Linked DNA regions of Homo sapiens: region 1 is linked to region 2. The links are contacts of gene promoters, found by promoter capture Hi-C in blood cells and fetal thymus (Javierre and others, 2016). All regions are on one chromosome and are shown on one strand. The core of a region is centred on a gene start or on the middle of the fragment in contact, and the rest is flanking DNA. Distances in the headings are between cores, read along the strand shown. Region 1 overlaps CLCA4-AS1 (CLCA4 antisense RNA 1). Region 2 holds the start of CLCA1 (chloride channel accessory 1).

Region 1 (7,240 bases), core at 2,707-5,206, 180 kb after region 2:
CCTTATTGATGCTTTCAGCAGAATTTCATCTAGAAGTGGCAGCATCTCTCAGCAGGCTCTTCAGGTCAGTGTAAAAAAAAACTATTTTCTTTCTCACAGTTGTAATAAATTTATATTATCCTAATTATTAACTCCTATCTCTCAAATAATTCTTTTGCCTGAAAATATTTCAGATATGCAGAAGAAAAACTTCCTTACTGAATTTGATTTTCCATAACACTTAAAGCCACATCTTCTCCCGAATTCTTCTATTCTTTAGAATTAGGTATCCTTTTCATTTGGAAAATTCTTTAAAATAACTCTTAGTTATTTTAATTGAAATCTTAAAAACAAACAAAATTACTCTAAACTGACTAAACTCGGAAATTTTATTAACTATGATAACAAATGGATTTCATGTGTTTGTTGTTTTTATTTACCGAACAGTTGGAAAGTAAAACTTTGAATATCCCAGCGAAGAAATGGATAAATGGTACAGTGCCTGTGGATAGTACAGTTAGAAATGATACTTCCTTTGTTGTCACATGGACGATACAAAAGCCAGCAATAATTCTTCAAGATCCAAAAGAAAAAAATATACTACCTCAGATTTTCAAGAAGGTGAACTAAATATTCGGTCTGCCCGTCTTCGAATACCAGGTATTGCAGAGGTAGGTCTATTATTTTATGTTCTCTAAGTTTTCTTAATCAATTTCTATTTTTAAAAGATAAAAATAACATAGATAACATCTTATACATTGCCAATATTAAAATGATGACAGATCATCTGTAATAAAGAAATCAAATGGAATAATTAGGGATTCATATTCATACTATTTACTAGTTTGTGAAATTCAATATTAAAAATCATGATTATTATTCTGCTTAAATTTGTAAATAATTTTGTATTCCAAACAAAAAGTAGGAAAATATTACCAAAGCTCTCAGACAGATTTTTTTTTAATGTTTCAGACAGGCACTTGGACTTACAGCGTTCGAAACAATCATACCAAATCTCAATTGCTAACTGTGACAATGACCACTCGAGCAAGAAGCCCTACCACACTCCCAGTAATTGCAACTGCTCACATGAGTCAAAATACAGCTCATTACCCTAGCCCAGTGATTGTTTATGCATGAGTCAGTCAAGGGTTTCTTCCTGTTCTGGGAATCAATGTAACAGCCATTATAGAAAATGAAGAGGGACATCAAGTAACATTGGAGCTCTGGGACAATGGCGCAGGTAATAAGAATCTACATCAACTTCCACTAAACTTAAAATCCTCCTACAGTTCTATGACCTAGAAGTCAATATTTCCTGTATTTGCTAATGAATCATATTTTTAAGTAAATGAAATTTAATCCTAATGTTTTAAAAACTTTTTTCTCAGTTATCTTGACAACTCATAGACATAGCACTTATGCCATTTTTAAATTTTATGAACAATTTTGCTTTTTCCATGGAACTTAAGAGCACAATTTTTCTCTATTTTCATTAATGTCAGTGTTTCATATATGCTTTCTTCAGTTGCTTTTTCTTATTTTGATAAGTATTTTTTATGAAATAATAGTAACAGCTAATATTAATTGAATCCCTTCCATGAATTAGACTTTTCCAAAAACACAGAGTTAGCAAGTGGCCCAAGCTTTCAACCAAAATAGTCTGATTCCAGAATTCATGTACTTAAAACGCTGTGCTACATACTATCTCCCAAATTACTAACATTATCAGTGTTCATAAACAGATATGACTGTCATTTTTACTTTATTGTATGACTAATTTTTACATTTCATTATCAAGGTGCTGATTCTGTCAAGAATGATGGCATCTACTCAAGGTATTTTACAGATTACCATGGAAATGGTAGATACAGTTTAAAAGTGCTTACCCAGGCAAGAAAAAACACAGCTAGGCTAAGTCAACAACAGAATAAAGCTCTGTATGTACCGCGCTATGCTGAAAATGGTAAGTAGCACTAAAATAGAAATGTGTCACTTGTTTAGATAAATTCCATACGGCAAACATTGAAAATATAATGTACTACAGAAAGCCCAAGTATATAACCTTGTAATCATCTGTATGTTTCAAAACCATGTTGATATTAGTAGACCTAGCATAGACCTATGTTTCCACATATTTTGTTCACATCTCCCTGAGTTCATTTCATTTACATTGAAAAAAAAATTACTGAGCACCTACTATGTTGCAAGCACTGTGCTTAGGTGCTAGAGCTACAAAGACAAAACATAATCCTGTTCCTCAAAGAATTTGCAGTCAAGTAGTAGAGACAGAGAAGTTAAAAGATAGTTTTAACATAGCATAATGTTTCCTCATCAATTTTAAAATATGAATAAACAAGTGTTTTCTCAGTAAAAACTGTTACTTTTTCAATGTCTGCCAATCAATATTAAGCCTCTACAGCTGCAAGATCAGCTTGCAAGATGAATAGGCACCGCTGCCGGGCGCGGTGGCTCACACCTGTAATCCCAGCGCTTTGGGAGGCCGATGAGGGTGGATCACCTGAGGTCAGGAGTTCCAGACCAGCCTGGCCTACATGGCTAAACCCCGTCTCTACCAAAATACAAAAATTAGCTGGGCGTTGTGGCGGGCGACTGTAGTTCCAGCGACTCGGGAGGCTGAGGCAGGAAAATCGCTTAAACCCAGGAGGCGGAGGTTGCAGTGAGCCGAGATCACGCCACTGCACTTCAGCCAGCCTGGGCGACAGAGCGAGACTCCATCTCAAAAAACAAAACAAAAAAAATAAAAAATAAAATAAAAGAGTAGACATGGCAATATGAAATATTACAAAATTTTTTCTTGGTAGGAAAAATTATACTGAACCCATCCAAACCTGAAGTCACAGATGATGTGGAAGGAGCTCAAACAGACGACTTCAGCAGACTCATCTCTGGAGGGTCGTTTACTGTATCAGGAGTGCCTCCTAATGGTAATCATTCTCAGGTGTTCTCACCTGGTAAAATTGTAGACCTCGAGGCTAAGTTTCAAGGAGATCATATTCAACTTTCATGGACTGCCCCTGGCAAGGTCCTCGATAAAGGAAGAGGTAAGTTTGACATTACGTTTTAAAATATACTAAAAGAAATCCCATTGGCTTTCATTTGCTAAGAATTTTCTAATGGCCCATTTATAAATAACATTTATGAAGTGTCTACTATAGGCCATTTTTAAATTATTTTCAGATGTGAAAACTAAAGCTATAAGAGTTGATTGGACCAAGTTATTTCTATATTTAGTAACTTACAATTCTAACCCAGTCATGTCAGATTCTGTTATGCCAAACTATCTGTCAGAAATTGAAGCAGCTTAGAAATTACTTTGAGAGGACAGTTAACAGCTTTCTGTTGCATTATCTTCTCCCCAAATTTTAAGTATTTCTGTACTTGCACAGTTTCATTCATTTATCAACCTTCTGTTGAGCTTTCACACTATTAGAATCCTAAGAAATGATCCATACTCTCAACAGTCAATTAAGTACAGAAGACACACAAGTAAACAGATAATTACATAAAGTATAATAAGACATAAGCTTTTATAAACAGAGAATTATGTGGCAACCCATAGATGGGCCACAAACCCCTAGTTAGAGGTTAAAATCAGAGTATATTGTAAAGCCTTCCCAGAGAAGACTATCACTGAGTATTGAAGAATGAGAGTAGTTACCCAAGATAAGTGAAGGTGTCCACAGAGAGAGATGTTCATGTGCACAGAAATTCACTAGTTTGAAAGATTTGTTCATGGAGTTTGAATAAAGTTCAAGGTCAAAAGATCTCATTTATTCAAAGTTCCTAATGATAAATGACCCTCACTCCAAAAAGTTTAAATTACTTCTGTCATTGCTTGAAATTTAACTGAATTCAATCAGTATTTATTGAATGCCTACCATATTCCAGTATTACATAGGTTAGTAGATTTTTATGGGATAACGCCAGTCTTGCTATTTTCCCTTTAAGATTGGGAAAATGAAAGCAATATGCAATTTAGATATACATAATAGCTCAGAGATTGCCAGTGCTAAAACACCAGTGTTCCAGTACTCTTTCTCCTGGATTACAATAAACCCCATTGTACACTCTCAAAAGAAAAGATGCTTCTTAATCTTTCACTCACTATATAGCATTTTAAAAGCTGCATTTCTTATTATCATTATTATACAAGGAGAATATCATTCTAAAGTCAGAGGAAACAGAATATGCACAAACAGAGCTTTTGTATTTCAATGTTGAAAATCTTATCATGACAGCTTTTTGCATACCTTATTTTCTCATGCTATGACCCTTAAACATATGGCAGAATCAAAAAAAGTGAAAAATACCATTGCCACTGAAAAAGCCACAAATGAAATTTCTTAACCAAATATTTAGTTCTATAGTGAATTCAGTAAAAACCAAGCTTTCAGTTCAAGATTGGGTTCATAATAAATATCCCTCATGCTGATTATAAGAACTAAAAGTAGGAGTAATGTATAACCACAAATGCCTAAAATAGGTGGCATCTAATCTTTGTCTTTCCTTAGGAAAAATAGGAAGAGGTATTGGTACCTGTTAAATGTTACCTGTAGATATTCCAAAGGTAAGATAGTAGCAGTATCTTAAAGAATAAATGAACGTCTATATAATCTCAAATGAAGCACTTAAATTACCTGGGACACAATTTCCTCACCTGTCAAATATACAAATTAGATTAGATTACCTAAAATTACTAAAACAAGTAGATATAATTCAAATTTTTTATGATTTTCTAATTTTATCATTTTGGGTGTCAACTTAACAACTGTATTGTTGGCCAAGTAATTAAGGAGATCAAATACATGTCAACACAGGACCAGGTACCCTGAGTGATACAAAGAGTAAAAAACATAGTCTTTACCCTCAAAAATAATAAGATCTAATCAGAATGAAAAGTTGAACCTCTACTAAACTATCTGAAAAACTCCACTCCATGAAACAGAAGTTCATGAAAGAGAGTCATCAGGGTGAATGAAATACTTGGACGGAACTTCATGCAGTTGGGCTTGGTTGGACCTTAAAGAATGAGTACAATTTGCATATATAGGGAGAAGGAGGTACATTTTGGAGAGAGAAAGAACAAAATTATATGATCAAGGTCAAGAAAGCAAAATTTCACAATGGAATATTCTAATTAAAATAAGAAATAGGTGGAGAGAAGAGAGACAGAGAGACCTACGTAAGTGGAACACAAGGTTTTTGTGAAGAGTAGTAGAACGGATTGATAAGGCCTATTTAAAAGGAAACTAAATGTTAAGCAGAGGATCTGAATTATTTTTAAAAATACACTAAAAGTTATTCACCACACACTTGAAATACCTTCAATATTTCATGGAAAAGTTAAAAATAAAGTCCTTACTCCAAAAAAAATCTGGTGTTTTATTTTTCATCACATTTCAGAATGTGAGAATATATTTCTACATGAATGGTAGATATCAAAAAGCAGTGTAGAAAGAAACATTTATGTTGGCATCTTCTTTTCCTTTCTTGATAAAATAACAGCCAATATTTCAAACATTTATTAATTTACCATTTATTAAATTGTAGTGAACATGTTTCATGCATTATCATCTATGATTCTTACCACTAGAATAGTAGGCACTCAATAAATATTTGTTGAATGATTTGAATAACTGAATCCCTATTTTAACAGATAAAAAACTAGAGATAAGGAAACTTAAGTCGGGGTGCGGTGGCTCATGCCTGTAATCCCAGCACTTTGGGAGGCCGAGGTGGGCGGGTCACAAGGTCAGGAGATCGAGACCATCCTGGCCAAAATGGTGAAACCCCTTCTCTACTGAAAAAAAAAAAAAAATTAACTGGGCATGGTGGCGCATGCCTGTAATCCCAGCTACTCGAGAGGCTGAGGCAGGAGAATCACTTGAACCAGGGAGTCAGAGGTTGCAGTGAGCTGAGATGGCACCACTGCACTCCAGCCTGGCGACAGAGCAAGACTCTGTCTCAAAAAAGAAAAGAAAAGAAAAAAAAAAGAAAAGATATCTTAAATAAATTTCTTTTTATGACACAGCTAGCAAGTAGTAAAATTAGGGTGCTACTCAAGGTTTGTCTAGGTCCTTAACACATATTTACTTTTATTTTTTATTTTCATATTTTTAAATTTTTAATTTTTGTGGGTACATAGTAGGTGTATATATTTATAGGGTACATGAGATTTTGATCCAGGCATGCAATGTGAAATAATCACATCATGGAGAATGGGGTATCCATCCCCTCAAGCATTTATCCTTTATGTTACAAACAACCCAACTACACTCCTTTAGTTATTTTTAAATGTATAATTAAGTTATTTTTGACTATTGACTATAGTCACTCTGTTGTGCTGTCAAATAGTAGGTCTTATTCATTCTTTCTAACTGTTTTTTTGTGCCCATTAACCATCCCCACCTTCTCCTACCCAGTCCCCCACTACCCTTCCCAGCCTCTAGGAACCATTCTTCTACTCTGTATGTCCATGAGTTTAATTGTTTTGATTTTTAGATCCCACAAATAAGTGAGAACTTGCGATGTTTGTCTTTCTGCTTAGCACGTGTTTAATTAGTACACATTCCAGTCTCTCTGCCTCCTTTTGCTGGTTATCCTTATCCCTGTTTCCCACTCCATTTATCATCTCTCTTTCTCCCCTGTCCTATTACTTCCTATTTTAACTTAATAAGAAATGACACAGATATAGGGTACTGAATATCTTCGCTATACTACAATACTATTATGTTCCTTGTTCTAAATTAAAAAGTAGATCCAGCTCCTTATATTTCTCTCCCTAAAAAGGAAAACACCAGAGTCTGACTTTTTAGTACCATATGATTTTGAATTAAAATTTCCTGGGATTAGAGAACTCTACATTTTAAGAAAAACTGTTCACACATTTGTCCTTACAATAAAGATGGAATAACCAGACAAAAACTAATGGGATTTCCATAACTAAAACCTAGTGTGCATTTCTGATAGGTTTCTAAATGTAAAGCAGTGTGGTGGTAGCAAGGCATCCTAGTGATTTTAATATATCTGAAGTATCTATTTGTTTTCCAGCTGAGAGCTACATTATAAGAATAAGTAAACATTTCCTGGACCTCCAAGAAGATTTTGATAAAGCTGCTTTAATAAATACTTCTGGTCTGATACCTAAGGAGCCTGGTTCAGTAGAAAGTTTTGAATTTAAACCAGAACCTTCTAAAATAGAGAATGGTACGACATTCTATATTGCAATTCAAGCCAT
Region 2 (7,476 bases), core at 1,544-4,043:
TGGGAACGGGAGAGAATGGAGGAGCTGCCCCCACAATCTGCACAGTGAAGGCCATGCTAAACTAGGCCCTCTTCCTGGGGAAAGCTAAGAAGAAACACTGGTATTAGGAGATGTGTGAATTTTAGCAGCAGCCAGGACTCTCCACTGAGCAAGCAGCCAAGACCCAGCTTGCAGGGAATGCCAAGCAAATTTGGAGAGCACTTAAACTGAGTCTGTCACACCAGATGACCTCTGTCATAGGGAAATGCAGCAGCTGCAGCCAACAAGGGCAGGACAACTAAAGACCCCACTCAGGGATGAAGGGTGGGATTACCCCAACAAGAGAACAAACAATACAGATCAACCAAAATGCTGAGTAAAAGTGAGGGAAATAGGTGATAAAGGAGGGAGATTATAAAAGCCTTGAGACCAGCTGTAACAGCAGGCATTGCAATTTATTTCAATAACCTTCTTGCCTTATGCACTTGAGCAGATTGCAATTGACCACCACTTTGAAGGAGATTCTGTAAATGATTAAACTTGTACCTTCTCTCAGGGGAAAAGTGAGACAGCTAGTGCTCACACACACAGAAACACAAATCCTACATTATAATATTGGAGCTTGATATGATGAAAGTACTAGAGTGAATCTGAGCAGCTCAGAGTGAACTGTATCAGACTCTTCTTATTGAACCTCCTCAGATTTGCTTGGTTCCATCTGTCTACCGGGCACTCAGTCATTTGCTCCACCTCAGTCACTATCCACTCCTTGCAGGTCCAAGCAGTTCCACTGCCTGAGGTCAAGCTGCCACCTCTTGTAACCCCTGGCTCCTCACATACCACAAGGCATGGGGGTCTCTCTTTCTAAGCGACTGCCGAAAGGGCTGGATGACACAGCCAGGAAGTCTGGGGGGAGATGATCACCTGTAGAAGATGAGAAGGAGCCAAACGCTTTTCCTTCCTCTCTCCAAAGGGCTGCTCCAAGGCGTGGTTTCTTTGCACAGCCCCTTAGGAGACAACCCACACAGGAAGGCAAGGGCGCCTGTGGGCTGGCCTGCTGGGTGTCTCCATTGCAGGGCTTAGTAATGCTCCTCCTTTAGTTGCTTCCCAGCCTTCCCTGACTCATTTCCCCATTCCCTCATTCTCACTGCTCTGGGATTAAACTCTCAAACTCTTAGCACATATGCCTGCCTTAGGCTCTGTTTTTTAGGGAACCCAGGCAAAGACACATACATTTGGGGTCTGAGATATCTTGGAATCTACATTTTTAAATTTTGTATGAATAATAAATGTATATGTATTTTGATATAAAAGCATATTTTGGATCATCTGGACAACCACATTATAATTGAGCATTTCCACTCTATTTCAGTGTTTCCCTTTTAACTGCTTAAGATTATGCTAGATATAAAGGGTATTCAATTAGGAAAAGAGGAAGTCAAATTGTCCCTGTTTGCAGATGACATGATTGTATATCTAGAAAACCCCATTGTCTCAGCCCAAAATCTCCTTAAGCTGATAAGCAACTTCAGCAAAGTCTCAGGATACAAAATCAATGTACAAAAATCACAAGCATTCTTATACACCAACAACAGACAAACAGAGAGCCAAATCATGAGTGAACTCCCATTCACAATTGCTTCAAAGAGAATAAAATACCTAGGAATCCAACTTACAAGGGACGTGAAGGACCTCTTCAAGGAGAACTACAAACCACTGCTCAAGGAAATAAAAGAGGATACAAACAAATGGAAGAACATTTCATGCTCATGGATAGGAAGAATCAATATCGTGAAAATGGCCATACTGCCCAAGGTAATTTACAGATTCAATGCCATCTCCATCAAGCTACCAATGCCTTTCTTCACAGAATTGGAAAAAACTACTTTAAAGTTCATATGGACAAGATGAAATTAATGCTTATCACCATCTGAAGACCAAATGAATTTATGAACGAAGAGATATTTCAAGTATTTCAATACAAGAAAATGGGGGGCCAATTTGAGGTTCCACCTGAGGTTTGGCAAATTGAAAGAATATACACAGCCACTGACAGCCCATAATTCATGTTCCTAGGGACATTTAGTTTCAGCAAAATAATTTAATGATGTTAATTGGAATTTTATTGACTGGTAGGAGCTATGCAATAGAGAAAGCAGAAATCTGATGAGGAACTTGGAGTATGCTTTGCAAAGTAAGATATACATTTTATCTTTACTCTCCATTATAAAATAGTCAATAATATCTACATCACTTGCTAATGCTTTTGGTACAAATGGATGTGGAATATAATTGAATATTTTCTTGTTTAAGGGGAGCATGAAGAGGTGTTGAGGTTATGTCAAGGTAAACAAAACCACCATTGTGGTAAAGACCACCATGAGGGATAACTGAATATATGGCTTACAAAATGTTTACTGAATAAGCAGAACAGTCTGGATTTTCCTGGGCAGGAGGGGGTTGGGGGCTTTGGGTGGGTTGGTGTCCATGGCTTGGTAAACATTTCCAAGAAGTAAACAAACCTATCAGCGGCCAAGCTGCTTGTCACCTGTGAGTGCTTCCAAGGAACCGGATGTGGGCTCCCCCACCCTTACCCCAGCATCTGGCACAGCTGAAGGCAGATGGAAATATTTACAAGTACGCAATTTGAGACTAAGATATTGTTATCATTCTCCTATTGAAGACAAGAGCAATAGTAAAACACATCAGGTCAGGGGGTTAAAGACCTGTGATAAACCACTTCCGATAAGTTGGAAACGTGTGTCTATATTTTCATATCTGTATATATATAATGGTAAAGAAAGACACCTTCGTAACCCGCATTTTCCAAAGAGAGAAATCACAGGGAGATGTACAGCAATGGGGCCATTTAAGAGTTCTGTGTTCATCTTGATTCTTCACCTTCTAGAAGGGGCCCTGAGTAATTCACTCATTCAGCTGAACAACAATGGCTATGAAGGCATTGTCGTTGCAATCGACCCCAATGTGCCAGAAGATGAAACACTCATTCAACAAATAAAGGTAAGTTCATAGTAATTATCCATACTTTTTTAAAAATAGCATAATGTTGTGATAGAGAGAACATGAGTGCCCTATTCCAGCTGCACGACACTGGCATGTATTTTTATGTCTAAGTCTCAGTTTCTTCATCTGTAAAATGGAAATAATAACAAGTTAACCATTAGGATTCTTGTGTCAGATAAGATAATGAATGCAATGCACATAACTCAGAGTGATATACTGTTGGCAACTGATAAATGATAAATTGATATGTACTGCTGTGGATTATGTCACTGAAAATTATTTAGTTCTATAGTAAGGCAGAGTCAGCTACATTTGACAGATATTGTGAGATGCACAGATCCTTTGCCTGATTTTACCCTTGGCACGAGTCAGACTCTCCTTTTATTCTCCTAATAGGAACCCCCTTCCCTGTGATCCTAAAAGGAGCCCCAGATGCAAATCTCTGATATAAGAACAACCCTGACCTTCTGATGGGAGAAAACCTTGCATTTTATCAGTCCCAATTCAAGGGATCCTTTCAGAGATTTCTTGCTACCTCTTATGTAGCAGAAGGGAAAGGAAGAAGACTTCCTGTCCTGGCAGGGGTATCTATACCATTGAAGAAGGTCTTGTACAACAACAAACAGCTAAAACTAAGAGGGAAATGCTTTATAAAAGACCGCCCTGGAATCTGGCTGTAACACATCCAGAGGCAGTGCTGTACTAGTAACAGTATTAGTCTGTAAAATGGGAATAATAATAATAAATATCTCCCTTATCAGATTTTGTGAGGATCAAAGTTTAAAATGCATGCATATAAAGGGAAGCTGGGTGGAGTATGTAAGAATACGGTGCAATACTTTGCATGTCTTCTGTTCATCTAAATTTATCTCAGAACTTTAAAAAATAACTTTAAAAATGCATGCATAGTGCCTGGTACATAGTAAGAGCTCAATAAATGGTGGATATAGTCATTGGCTCTCTCTAGATGGAAAATTAATAGAACAAGGGCCCAGAGGGATTTCCCCAGAGATCCACTGCTCTAAGCAGAGGCAAATATAGAAAGATAATGTTTGGAAAGAAAACCATCTCTACAGTGTGTGGTTAGAGAATTGCAGCAGTAGGGGATAGGGATAGGGAACAGAGTGGAGGGTGTCACTCACCATAAAGCTTACCTACTTAACCCAAAGAGGATCAGGCTGTCTGTGGTAAAAGGGAGATTCAGACCTCTTGAATCTCTCAATCATCTAAAATGTTGAGTGAGTTTTTGATTGTTTCTAAATTTGGAAGTGGCATCAGCAAACATGTGACCAGTGTGTTTCAGTCTCTGGCTAGACAGTGGGGTTCAGCAATATGCCAGAAGGAGAATGTAGATGCCGTATTCATCTTCAGTGACCGTGGTAATTTGTATCTACAGTATATAGTGACTAGAGCTTTCAAAGTGCTTCTACTTCATTGTCCTTGGAGGTTTTCCTCCCGAGATACGTACTTCTCGCTACAATTATTAAATTGTCTTTCCAGTATGGATCCTAAAGTTGGGGGTGAGATAAGTTGGCTTCCATCATTTCCTTCTCTGTAACAAGAACACTTTAGTGAATAGAATGCTCAAAGTCCCTAACTCCTTCCTATTTGATGTTCCAGATCTGCAGAGTTGAGGGACCTCGTTGAGGGCTTGGCCACCTTTCCCAACCATTCCTCCCTCTACTCCAACAACCTTCTTGCTGATGAGAGACTCTCCCCTGGTGCCCCTGTGGGGACAGAAGCCCCTAACTCAGCTTTTAAAATATTTGCTTCAGCAGGACAGTCCCCAGATTTCCCCACCTACAAGAGCAGTTAATCGCTCTGCACCACTTCCATCCACTGCATTCTTGCTAATATTAGCAGGGGGAGTACACGTCACAAGATGAGGAAGGGAGAGTCAGAGAGAAACTCTCTCTTCCCCCGTCAAATATACATACACACACACCACACGCACAAGCTCGTGTGCACACACACACGCCCATGCACACACGCAGACATACACGCACACACGCACGTCAGAAGGTACACAGTAGGGTTATTTTGGAGTCTCTGCAATGCTCAGCACCCCAGGCACTGTGCCTGTCTTGGCAGTTCTATACCACTTTGCCATTTACTAAACCCACTTTATTTATCCATTTGTTTGTTTATTCATTCAACAAATATTTACAGAGCATCTAAATTATGTCAGGTACTAGAAGTCCAGTGGTCAATATACTGTCCCTGTCCTGAAGGAATTTCTAGCCCATTCTATAAACTGTCACCCCCAACCTTCTCTCAGCCTAAGAGTCTAAATATGTATTAGGATATGAGGTCATTTTCTGAAAATCTGAAACAGATGCCAAAACAAAGATCCCTTATTATTGTTTCTATTACAATGTGGAAGACAAGAGCATTTCATGGTACTTATTCTTCCTGGGAGACATTGGAAATTCACATTTCACAAGTCAAATGGTAAAACAATACTCTAATATATGAAGTTTTATACCTACTTTTCAAGTTTTTGGTGATCTTGGCTCATTTTTTAATTTTATTTTTTAAAGTGACATAATATTAAACTCTCCTAGTGAGTGTTAAAAATCTGGGAGTTTTAGAAGGAGAAAATGTAAATCATTAAGAACACTTAAAAAAATAGAGGCAACCATTATTATCACTATTTGAAAGGGAGAAATTGAGGCTCAGAGAAGTAAAATAAGTTCTTTAAGTTTACCCCTTAGGAAGAGGCACAGCAGGACTTACCCGTGCACTAACACCCAAGTGCTGCTTCCCCATAAAATGGTGAAGCATTTCTGCTCCTAACACGACCCCCACTAGGCAATGGAGTCTAGTCACTCTGGTCTGTTCCCGCAAGGACTTTGCTCCTGCAATGACCCCTTTTTCTTTTACATTTTTGTTTTTTTTTTCATTAGCATAGAAATATTTTATAATATAATATTAAAACAAACAAAACTGTCTTGTCCTGAAGTCCACTTCCAGCTGCTGCCTATTTCTCCATTCCCCTTTAGTTCACAGAAAAACTTCTGAACCTGTTGTTGTCTGTATTTACTGTCTCCACTGCCTCACCTCCCACTTTCTTGAAACCACTCTTACGGAGCTGCTGTATTTATTCCACTACTAGGGCTCACCATGCTGCCAAGTCCAGTGATCAGTTCTTAGTCCTCATATGAAGTGATGGCTCAGCAGTGCTTGACACCGATGATCACGCCCTCCTCCCTATAGCTCTCTCATCCCACAGCTCCTCATTTCCTCTGCAGGCACTGACTGCCCTTCTGAGGCCCCTGTATTGGCTCCTCCTCTTTCTACCTCTGAATGCTGGGGTCCCCCACATTCCCTGGGCTCAGTCTTCAGCCTCTTTTTTCCTCTGTCTATGCTCACTTTCGAAGCAAATGGTTTTCAGTCCTAACAGATACACTGCCCCCTTTCTATAACAGTATCTTCTATCACTCTCCCTACTCTCTCGTCATAACATATCACAGGGAATCTGCAGACACATTTATAATTTAACGCTGCAGCTATTTCATTTTAGAGAAGTAAAATTAGGTGTAATTTGAAAATATATAATTATGCTATTTTCTTATATCTCTTAGTACCACACTGCACAAAAAATAAATACTTCTATCAGCACTTGGCAAAGTTTAAAAAAAAGAAAAATGAATCAATAAATAAATAATACCACAACATTTAGTATTACATTTAATTTGACTTAGTATATAATCCCAAAATTATTACAGGAGTCAGCAGGTGTTAAAATCACATTCACTTTTTCTCTTCATTACTACTTGCTGTGAGACCTTGAGAATTATACTAAGTCTCAGTTTCACCCTCAAAGATTTGTGGATTCTCAAAGAAGCAAGTGAAACGCATAGCTAATATTTTATACTTGCTTGTGCGAAGTAAACACTGTTCCTAGCACATCATATGTTTCACTTTGTTCCTCACCACAACCTTATCAGCCAGTCACTATAATATAATATTCCATTTTGTTAATGGGAAAACTGAGGCTCAGAATTAGAAATTGCCGAATGTCCCACAAAAAGTGGTGCAGCCAGGATTAGAGTCTGTCTCCAGAGTCTGCATTGTTACTGATTACTCGGTGACACAGAATATTTGGTAAATGCTCTCAAAGCTTAGCTATTATTATTAAAAGGTATTTCTATATTTCTTCTTCCCATCTTAACAAATAACAAGTTTTTGAAAATGTGAAATCCAGATGTGAATTTGAATGACTGATAATTTAATTTATTTTCAGTCAATTGTTACGTATGTTTTCTTTTTCTTCCCAGGACATGGTGACCCAGGCATCTCTGTATCTGCTTGAAGCTACAGGAAAGCGATTTTATTTCAAAAATGTTGCCATTTTGATTCCTGAAACATGGAAGACAAAGGCTGACTATGTGAGACCAAAACTTGAGACCTACAAAAATGTGAGAATATCAAGTTCTTCTTTAAAATTCCACTTTCTCCTGTAACCAAGAT

What was found. Contacts are between HindIII fragments. The CHiCAGO score rates a contact against its expected background, and 5 or more counts as called.
Region 1: a contact is called between a fragment that was not itself captured here and the fragment with the promoter of CLCA1 in region 2, in 1 of 17 cell types (total B cells). The highest score is 5.6, in total B cells.

What each region holds. Positions count from the first base shown.
Region 1 is chr1:86,647,354-86,654,593 of GRCh38, forward strand. All of the region lies in intron 4 of CLCA4-AS1 (CLCA4 antisense RNA 1), which reads right to left. It also overlaps the pseudogene CLCA3P. Among named protein-coding and RNA genes, the nearest start is that of CLCA4-AS1, 54 kb to the right of the region's middle. RefSeq lists an enhancer at 254-1,453. The HindIII fragment of the contact is 863 bases long and covers 3,526-4,388 here.
Region 2 is chr1:86,466,134-86,473,609 of GRCh38, forward strand. It overlaps CLCA1 (chloride channel accessory 1), which reads left to right and starts at 2,794. Exons shown (of 14, transcript NM_001285.4): 1 at 2,794-3,000; 2 at 7,284-7,424. The coding sequence starts at 2,839. The HindIII fragment of the contact is 8,280 bases long and covers 1-4,150 here.